Regions from separate parts of the Homo sapiens genome. Here all the other regions are linked to region 1. Evidence: promoter capture Hi-C in human tissues and cell types (Jung and others, 2019). All regions are on one chromosome and are shown on one strand. Each heading gives the region's core, a stretch centred on a gene start or on the middle of the fragment in contact. The rest is flanking DNA. Distances are from core to core; before and after follow the strand shown.

Region 1 (2,964 bases), core at 226-2,725:
TTCCCTAGAATTAAAAAGAATTCTAGCCAATCCATTCAAAATAAACTTGGGAGAGCGCCTCACATCCTCCTATCCTCTTTATCTCTGCCTCACCATTATGATACTAATTGATTTCCTCATATTTTCATCTCTCCACAAACAAATGTATCTGGCTTCTGGCCCATCTCCCACTCATTTTGACTTTAATAAGAAAAGATAACTCAGAGAAGGGTAAAGGACAGAGCACGTAGCACTCCTCCATGTCCTTTGACATTTTCTATCATGCCTAAACAAGAAGCAGACAGAATTGTCCCCACTGAGATAGACACGACCTCCGGCAACAGCATGAATGTGACAACTGAGGGGCTGGGAGAGCCTGGAGCCCGGCAAGCAGCTGAGAGAAACCCCAAAGCAGAGAGAAGAGATAGGCAACAGACGGAAAAATAGAGAAAACAGAAACAGCAGGCAGGAGAGGAAAACAAAATTGAGAAATAAATAAGAAATAAAAGTGCTGTAAAGATAGAAACCACACCATACGGGAAAAAGAAACAGCACAGAAGGAAAAGAAAGGATGTAATCAGATCAGAGTAATGAAGGCAGGCAGTCGATACCGAAGTGAGAAATTGGACCAAAGGGAAAATAGTCAAAAGCTAGAATTCATGGAGGTGACAGTAGTAATTAGAACTTGGAGAGAAGGAGAATATCAGGGAAGAAAAAGGGAAAATAGAAGAGGTGGCAGTGACAAAAAGAATCATTATGAAAATGATATTTCCCACCGCTGTAAAAAGAAAAACAAATATGCTCAAAGTAATTGTTTTCCGAGGGGGTCTGGGGGAGGATAACGAGGGCATCTCAATCGCTGCTGCTTCCCTGGCTGGGTTGCTTGAGAGCATCCACGAGTGTGAAGGCTGCGAATAGGGCGCGTTAGAGAGATGAGTTGGGACACTGTCCCCACCTCACCCCCCACACCTTGTGCCTCTTTAAAATGTCCTATGCACTCAAATGTTGTCTGTTGTATTTGCAATAGTGTCTCTACGAAACCCAGCCTGTTGGAAAATCTAACTTTTGCAGTTTTCTTAAGGGTGTTAAGCCACAAGCTGCAGGTCTGGGACAGCCCTAGCTGCAAGTTAAGGGACAGTCGTTCCTCCTGCATTTGCATCGGTAGTTCTCGCCTGTGTTCTGGGGACAAAGCATTGGCTGGTCAGCACCTGAGCCGAACCCCTTCCTTTCGGGGAAAAGAAAGGTGCTGGGAAGCAACCGCCCAGCTCCCACCATCTGTACTTACGTCGAGGAAGATCGACATGCCCTTGGACAGGTGCAGAGCAGAGCTGAGCTCCTCCGAGGAGTTGTTGGAGGACGGCGATGTCTCCTGGGAATCTTCCATCCTCGGGAGCCCTGACGGCCTCAGGCGGAGCGGGGCTAGGCGGACGCACCGGCTCTGGCAAGGGCGCGGCCGCAGCTGCTGCTTCGCCGCCGCCGGGCTCTGGATCCGGGAGGGTGTTCGCTCCCGCGCGCGCCTCCCTCCGCGCTCTCCGCGCTCTCCGCGCTCGGTGTCCCCCCCTCCCTCCTCCGGCCTCTGCGCTCCCACGCGCTCCAACTCTCGCCTCCTCCTTCCCGTAGTTGACGGCGTCTGGATCCATGTCATCCCCGCACGTAGCAACGCGCGGAGGGGAGCGGGCTCTGCCCCCGGCACGGCCATCGGCCACGGCTGGAGATAGCCTGGGGACCCCTACCAGCCCCACGACGGCCCCAAGTGCAGGGATGGAGGAGGGCGTCCGGACAGAGAGAAGGGACGAATGGCAGGGCGTTTGTCCTGAGCAGCCAAAGCGCAAGGTAAGGACGCCCCCAGCCTCACCTGAGTGGATGCCATAAATAGGGAGGAACTCAGAGAGGTTCTACCTACTCTGCTTTTGGTCCCAGTGGCCTGTCTGCCCGACCTTCCCCAAAGGCGGGGGCAGGGTTCACGAATACCAGCAATCGAGGAGCAGCTGGTTTGGTGTAGGGATTAAGCCATTCGGTGTTATCTTGCGCTCGAAGGACTTAACCTGTAAGCCTCACTTTTCCTCATCAGTAAAATGGTTACACCGGTCTCACCCCAGAGGGTTCTGAGGCTTACCTATGGCAGTGCTGCTGACAAAGGCGGTGCTATGAACTCTGCCTAGAGTAGGCTTCGAAACGTTTGCTATGGGGCAAGGATTGTTAGGTAATGTTCAAATATGAAGTTTCCCAAAGTCACAAGACGAAGTCCTTATCTGTGTTTAAGCATTTAAACCAGGGTAATTATTCAATATTTGACGGCTTCTGCGAAGGCTGTAAAAATAGGAAACTGACCACACCTTTCATCAGGAGAGAGATCCAGTTTATTGGGCATCTAAAATGTGTATGTGTTGGTTACAAACTTGAGCTATCTGGGAGCGAGATAAGGCAAAAAAGAGGGAACCTTGTCTAAACAAGACTCTGCCTCTACCAGTGAGAACGGGTGAGGAGGATCCAGATCTCCATTTTGTGGCCTTTGGAGAAAAGTAAACATATTCTTCCTATAAGACAGGCCCACACACAACCAAAATGCTGATCAACATGTGAGTGTCTTAAAGGCATGTAAAACATGCTAGGGGTTTCTCAGGAGAGACAGGTTACACTCTGGCTGGGGGGACCAATAAAAGCTTGATGAAAGAAGCGGTATATGAAATGGACCTTAAAAATCAGTGGATACTCCATGCTTGATAGAAATAGAAGGAAAACACTTCCAGGCAGAAGGAACAGCGTAAGCAAAGCATGGCACCAGGAAAGCACGTGGAAGCTGGAAGTAGTCCACTGGGGATTCCTATAAACATACAGAATCCCAGATCCTACCTGGGCTTTCCAAATCCCAATACTAAAGTACTGTCTAGTCCAGAAATCCAAGTCCCCCTCACCCTAATGATTCATACACAGTTGCTATGTAGTAGGCTCAGGACTAGGGTGTGGCAAGTGGGGCCACTTGAG
Region 2 (3,003 bases), core at 158-2,657, 84 kb before region 1:
AGGAGCTTGTTAGAACTCAGTGTCTCAGGCCCACTTCCAGTCCTGTTGAATCACATTCTGCATTTTAATAAGACCCCCAGGTGATTTGTAGGCTTATTTAAGTTTGAGAAACACTACTCTAGGGTACTTGTTAGACATGAAGATAACTGAGAAGGTCTCATCTAGTAAATCACAATCTTTGGGTTGAGGGCGAGGTTCCCTAGGAGATTATGATGCAGAGTAAATTCGAGACCACTATGGGCAATGGGAAGCCATGGAAAGGAGAGTGACATCCTCAAATTCTCCTATCAGAAAAGGAAGGGATGCACTAAGGATGATTTGGGAATGTTGGTGACACCATCAAGAGAGAAGGGAGGTATCAACTGCCAGGAGGGATTTCATCACACAACTAGGACTATGAGCCATGCCAAAGCTTTGAAGTGGAATGAGCGGTGGAGTCCAGAATTTCAGCAGATCTGCAAACTCCAAGATGTGGTAGGCAGGAGGGAAGGACAGTGACATATTTGGAAGTGGCTGAGCTTGGACTAAAGTTTTATTCCAAGTTTCTCATGTTTGTGACTGATGTTTCTCATTTGAATCACAATACCAGTGTGAGTAGGGCAAATGTATATTGTCCTTAAGTCATGGCATTAGAAAGAATGACTTGGAACAAATATTGATTCCTTAAAATGCTTTCCTTTGGTAACTAGAAGAACTTCCTGAAGAAAAGACCTATTTTGTTGAAACCTGTATGTGGGTTTCATGAACTTGAGCAAAACAGAGTCATATTGCACTTATGGAAATGTGTGAAAACCAATTCTCATCAGTTTAAATGAAGTATCATTGAAAAGTAGAGTCTGAATATTAGGTATGATGAAAAAGTAGAGCACAGTTTATAAGCAGATGTAGTAAGCCTGTTATCTGTCAGGAAGCAGGCTATATTCTCATGGATATCCAGTGTGCCATCTTCTCTACTAAAATGCTAACAAAAAATTAGTTTCTACCTGCCTTTCTGTACTTAATCAGTGGTGTTGCATTACCAAACTACAGTTTTGTTCTGTTTTTCTATCCTGCACCTTAGTCTTTCAAGTTGTTGAGTTTTCAGGTCAGCTTAATAATTCTGTCAGAAGCAAAGGACCCACAGCTGCCACAAAAGTCTCAGTGGAAACTGGTCTTACAAAGTATTCTCATGAGTTTAGATGACTCTCATCTAAACTTCTCAAGCAGTTAGACTTTCTCAAGTAGTAGACTAGGTAGAAAAGAAAGTAATTGAGATGAGAGAGAGTGTTAAAACCCGCATGTTCTGAATAGGGAGGTCAGTCAGATCTAGAAATGTGGGCTATTTTGAGGGGATGCAGATAAGCGACACGCAAACTCTCTTACATCTCAATCATCAGTGACATGTGCCACTGGAGGAGGACACAGCAGTCTGGAGGAGGGCATAGAGCCTTCTGATTTCCTAGCACTCAGACTTGCTGGCACAGGTCTCTGAGCACTGTCCAGGCTCTGCCAATCTCTGCAGCCTGGGTGCTTAGTGCACAGCTACCGAAAGGAACCTTGGGTATGAAGGGAATAAGCTTTTATTCTGGAGTTTCCCGTACGCTCAGTTATTTTATTTTACTTTACTTTATTTATTATTATTATTTTTTGAGACAGAGTCTTGCTCTGTCGCCCAGGCTGGAGTGCAGTGGCCTGATCTCAGCTCACTGCAAGCTCCGCCTCCCGGGTTCACGCCATTCTCCTGCCTCAGCCTCCAGAGTAGCTGGGACTACAGGCGCCTGCCACCACGCCCGGTAATTTTTTTTTTTTTTTTTGTATTTTTAGTAGAGATGGGGTTTCACCGTGGTCTTGATCTCCTGATCTCGTGATCCACCCGCCTCAGCCTCCCAAAGTGCTGGGATTACAGGCGTGAGCCACCGCGCCCGGCCCCCGTACCCTCAGTTTTTATCCATCTTATTTATAGACTTCATATAACTTTTAAAATAGTTTAATATTTTGTAGATAACACCCGACTAGATGAGAAATTACACTATTAAATATATTCAACCTTCCTCACAAAGCTTTCTTACAGAAAGGCTTTCAGATCAAGCACATTCATTGCAATTATTCTTCGCTCATCTGTAAATATTTCAACTACCTATTCTTTTTTTTTTTTTTTTTTTTTTTTTTTTGAGACGGAGTCTCGCTCTGTCGCCCAGGCCGGACTGCGGACTGCAGTGGCGCAATCTCGGCTCACTGCAAGCTCCGCTTCCCGGGTTCACACCATTCTCCTGTCTCAGCCTCCCGAGTAGCTGGGACTACAGGCGCCCGCCACCGCGCCCGGCTAATTTTTTGTATTTTTAGTAGAGACGGGGTTTCACCTTGTTAGCCAGGATGGTCTCGATCTCCTGACCTCATGATCCACCCGCCTCGGCCTCCCAAAGTGCTGGGATTACAGGCGTGAGCCACCGCGCCCGGCCTCAACTATCTATTCTTAACTACCAACTTCAAGATCTGCAAAACGGTTCAGTAAAAATGAGTAAGGTTATGAAAACAGTCATAAACAGGGTAGGGCCAGGAAAGGTAGTAATTATACTCCTGAAGCTTTAGATTATAGCTAATTATGGTAGAAATACAAAATCAAAGCTTTAATGCCAGAGTTCAAACACAATTGCCTAATTAAAACTGAGTTATGTATTGACTGATCGTGATAAGATACGGCAAAAAAAAAATGCATTTAGGAAGGCCTTCACAATTGTATGTGAAGAGTGGATAATTTTGGCACTTCTATAAACTGCTGGTGGGTGTGCACCTTAGAGAAGCCTTGATTGAGGAATTACATGTTTGGGAATCTACCATTCAGAATTCAGAATTACTTGAACGTGAGTGTGAGAATAATGTATATGAGAATATTTATTTCAATCCTGTTTTTCCCATGGAAGGTTGGATTCAAATTGAAAATCCATTAAAAGGAACTTGATTGAAAAAAATTAAGGTTCATGAGACACTATGCAGCCTTTAAATAAAATGAAGGAAAAGGGGATG
Region 3 (2,894 bases), core at 297-2,796, 100 kb before region 1:
AGTGGTGGACCTATAGTAAATCTGTGCCCCTCAAAGGATCCTCTTAAGGATTGTGGGAACCGAAGAGGAAGAGTTGCCAATAATTTGGCTTGTAATTGAAGAAGAAAATTTTATTGCTGCTTTCTACCTGCTAAATTCTTTTTTTTAATTATTTTTTTTAAATTTTCTTTTTCTCAGCAAAGCAAGGTACTTCTATATAGAAGGAACAATGGAGTGCACACTTGGAGAAGGGAGGGCAAGGGGTTCTTATCCCTGACGCACGTCACCCCTGCTGCTGTGTCGTTCCCCTATTGGCTAGGGTTAGACCTCACAGGCTAAACTAATTCTAATTGGCTAATTTAAAGAGAATGAAGTGGTGAGTGCTTTGGCGGGAGTCAGGGCAGAGCAGGTAGCAGGTAATCAGAATGAGTTAGGGTGGAGCAGGTGATCCGAATGAGTTAGAGTGGAGTAGGTAATCGGAATGAGTCAGGGTGGAGTAGGTAATCAGGATGAGTCAGGGTGGAGTAGATAATCGAAAAAGATTGCTTTACGAGGAAGTTAAGTTTAAAAGTAGAAGGCAGAGAATTGAACATACTGACGTATTAGTTTGTTTGTTTTTTTTGTTTTTGTTTTTGTTTTTGTTTTTTTTTGAGACGGAGTCTCGCTCTGTCGCCCAGGCTGGAGTGCAGTGGCACGATCTCGGTTCACTGCAAGCTCCGCCTCCCGGGTTCCCGCCATTCTTCTGCCTCAGCCTCCTGAGTAGCTGGGACTACAGGCACCCGCCACCACGCCCGGCTAATTTTTTTGTATTTTTAGTAGAGACGGGGTTTCACCATGTTAGCCAGGATGGTCTCGATCTCCTGACCTTGTGATCCGCCTGCCTCGGCCTCCCAAAGTGCTGGGATTACAGGCGTGAACCACCTCGCCCGGCCGACATATTAATTCTTTGAAAAGAAATTTAGAACTCATACCTAACAACTCTTCCTCTTGTATTTCCTTACAGCTTTCTTTTCAAACTTTTTAAACATGTCTTAGCTTAGTTGTTTTGCTTGATTTTCCAAAAGAAGAAGCTTCTCTGGATAAGGTGGAGGATAGCTAAGGGAGGTTTTAGTAAGTGCCGTTTTTATGAACCTCTGCATCGACTTACGGATGCATGGTATGACACAGCACCCGACAAGAATAAGTATACCTATTACGGGTGTGAGGTAAATTCTTAAGACTCATCTGCAGAATGTCTCTTAGGCTGCATAAAATACAGACTTTGCACAAAACTTGGTCTAAAATGAGTAACTTGAAAAAATTATTCTCCTACTGACATCAGCTCGTTGAGCTTTAATTGTGCCTCTGATTTACATGAGAAAACATAAAAGGGAGTAGAAAGTTACAATTAAAGGAAGGAAAACAGTCCCTTTCAGCTACTGCCACAGATCTATTGTACAGAATACTTCTCTATGGAATACTTCCTCTATGGCCACAGGCCAGTTCCACTCAGCACTCCTCTCTTTGAAGAGGCCACAAATCTGACTAATTTTCATTTAACTTCATGGGGCAAGGAAGGGGGCTTCACAGAATTTCCTAATCTGTTTCTCTTTATCAAATACATAATCACTTTTTCTATCTGCTGAAAAATAAACCTGCAACAAAATGATCAAGACAGTAGAAAATGCTGTTATTATATTATTTGATTGGAGAGCAAAGGCTAATTTTTGTTTCCTATTATATTCCTTTTGATTACTAGCACATGGCAACACTCTGAACACAGTAGGTGCTTTTTGTGTCTATTAAACTGGATTTGAGGTGGCACCTGCTCTGTACATACATGCCTTTGGTTTGTTTCTTTTTTGCTTTTCAAAAGATTCCTATGCTTCCTCAGTGTTGAGACTACTTTTTCTGTTTTCTTTCTCTGGGATTCAGAGACACTGAGTTCTGCTCCTGGAGTTATTTATAGTTTTGGTAGCTAGGTCTCACATACCTCCTTTGTGCTTCCAAGAGTGTTGTAGGAGTATATGTTCTGTCACTGCAGATGATCTGTTTTCATCATATTAACAAGGAGATGGCTGACTAGGTGCTGTGCTTCCCTTTTAGTTGTTCCTTTATATTTTTATGAATTAATTTCTGTTTACTTTTGATAATTTTCTTAACAGACATTTGTGCCTCTATGCAATCATATGTGTCTGTTCCCATAAGCAGCAGCTTAGTCAATCACTCAGGGAAATACATGCATCTCTATGCATTCACCAGACTGAAGTTCTCCCAGAAACAAGCCCCTGTGCTTCATTAAACTATTGATTTGGTTGTCATAGATCAGCTGAAATGTATATCCTTAAAATGAAGGGAAGTCTCATGAAGCACTTACACTTATTATCTGTTTATCTAAAAAAATCAGCATGTAAAATTCTGACTTAAGGTTAAAATTTTCTCTGAAGGGTCAACATTCCAAATTTTTACTTAGATTATTAGTTAGCTGCTCTGTTGAATTCTCCCCTCTACCTTATAGAAATAAAATATTTTGGTTGTTGTTGTAAGAAAGAATCCATCATATCCATATAAAGCACCAAGCCACATGTTTAGCAATTGTTTCCAATAACAAAGTATGAAACTTGAGAATGACCTTGGAAGTAGAAAGATAACTAGTCCCATGACTATTATGCCTATATTGTGCCTATTATGGGCCACTTGCAGTACTAGACCCCCTACATGCATTATATCATTTTATCCTCCCAACATCTGACAATGAAAGAAATGAAGGCAAAAAGATTAACTTGGGCATATGCTAGCAAGTAGCAGAGCTAGGAATCATATCAAGTTTTTCCTAAGTATGAAATTGTTATTTCTGGAGACATCTCTCCATTTATCCCACATATTCTGATTTGTATAGTTTGGGGAGTGAGAGGTAGTTTTCCATATTTTAATGT

What was found. Contacts are between HindIII fragments. The study calls those that stand out against the background at their distance.
Region 2: a fragment that was not itself captured here is called in contact with the fragment with the promoter of NECAB1 in region 1 in 3 of the 25 tissues and cell types used here (bladder, dorsolateral prefrontal cortex and hippocampus).
Region 3: a contact is called between a fragment that was not itself captured here and the fragment with the promoter of NECAB1 in region 1, in 2 of the 25 tissues and cell types used here (dorsolateral prefrontal cortex and hippocampus).

The regions. Positions count from the first base shown.
Region 1 is chr8:90,790,286-90,793,249 of GRCh38, reverse strand. It overlaps NECAB1 (N-terminal EF-hand calcium binding protein 1), which reads right to left and starts at 1,475. Exons shown (of 13, transcript NM_022351.5): 1 at 1,265-1,475. The coding sequence starts at 1,363. It overlaps LOC105375633 (a long non-coding RNA gene), which reads left to right and starts at 1,082. Exons shown (of 4, transcript XR_928389.4): 1 at 1,082-1,812. The HindIII fragment of the contact is 16,269 bases long and covers 1-2,964 here.
Region 2 is chr8:90,874,635-90,877,637 of GRCh38, reverse strand. The region is part of intron 4 of NECAB1 (N-terminal EF-hand calcium binding protein 1); the gene reads right to left. All of the region lies in intron 2 of LOC105375634 (a long non-coding RNA gene), which reads left to right. Among named protein-coding and RNA genes, the nearest start is that of NECAB1, 84 kb to the right of the region's middle. The HindIII fragment of the contact is 3,506 bases long and covers 1-3,003 here.
Region 3 is chr8:90,894,340-90,897,233 of GRCh38, reverse strand. All of the region lies in intron 5 of NECAB1 (N-terminal EF-hand calcium binding protein 1), which reads right to left. All of the region lies in intron 1 of LOC105375634 (a long non-coding RNA gene), which reads left to right. Among named protein-coding and RNA genes, the nearest start is that of C8orf88, 89 kb to the left of the region's middle. The HindIII fragment of the contact is 3,887 bases long and covers 1-2,894 here.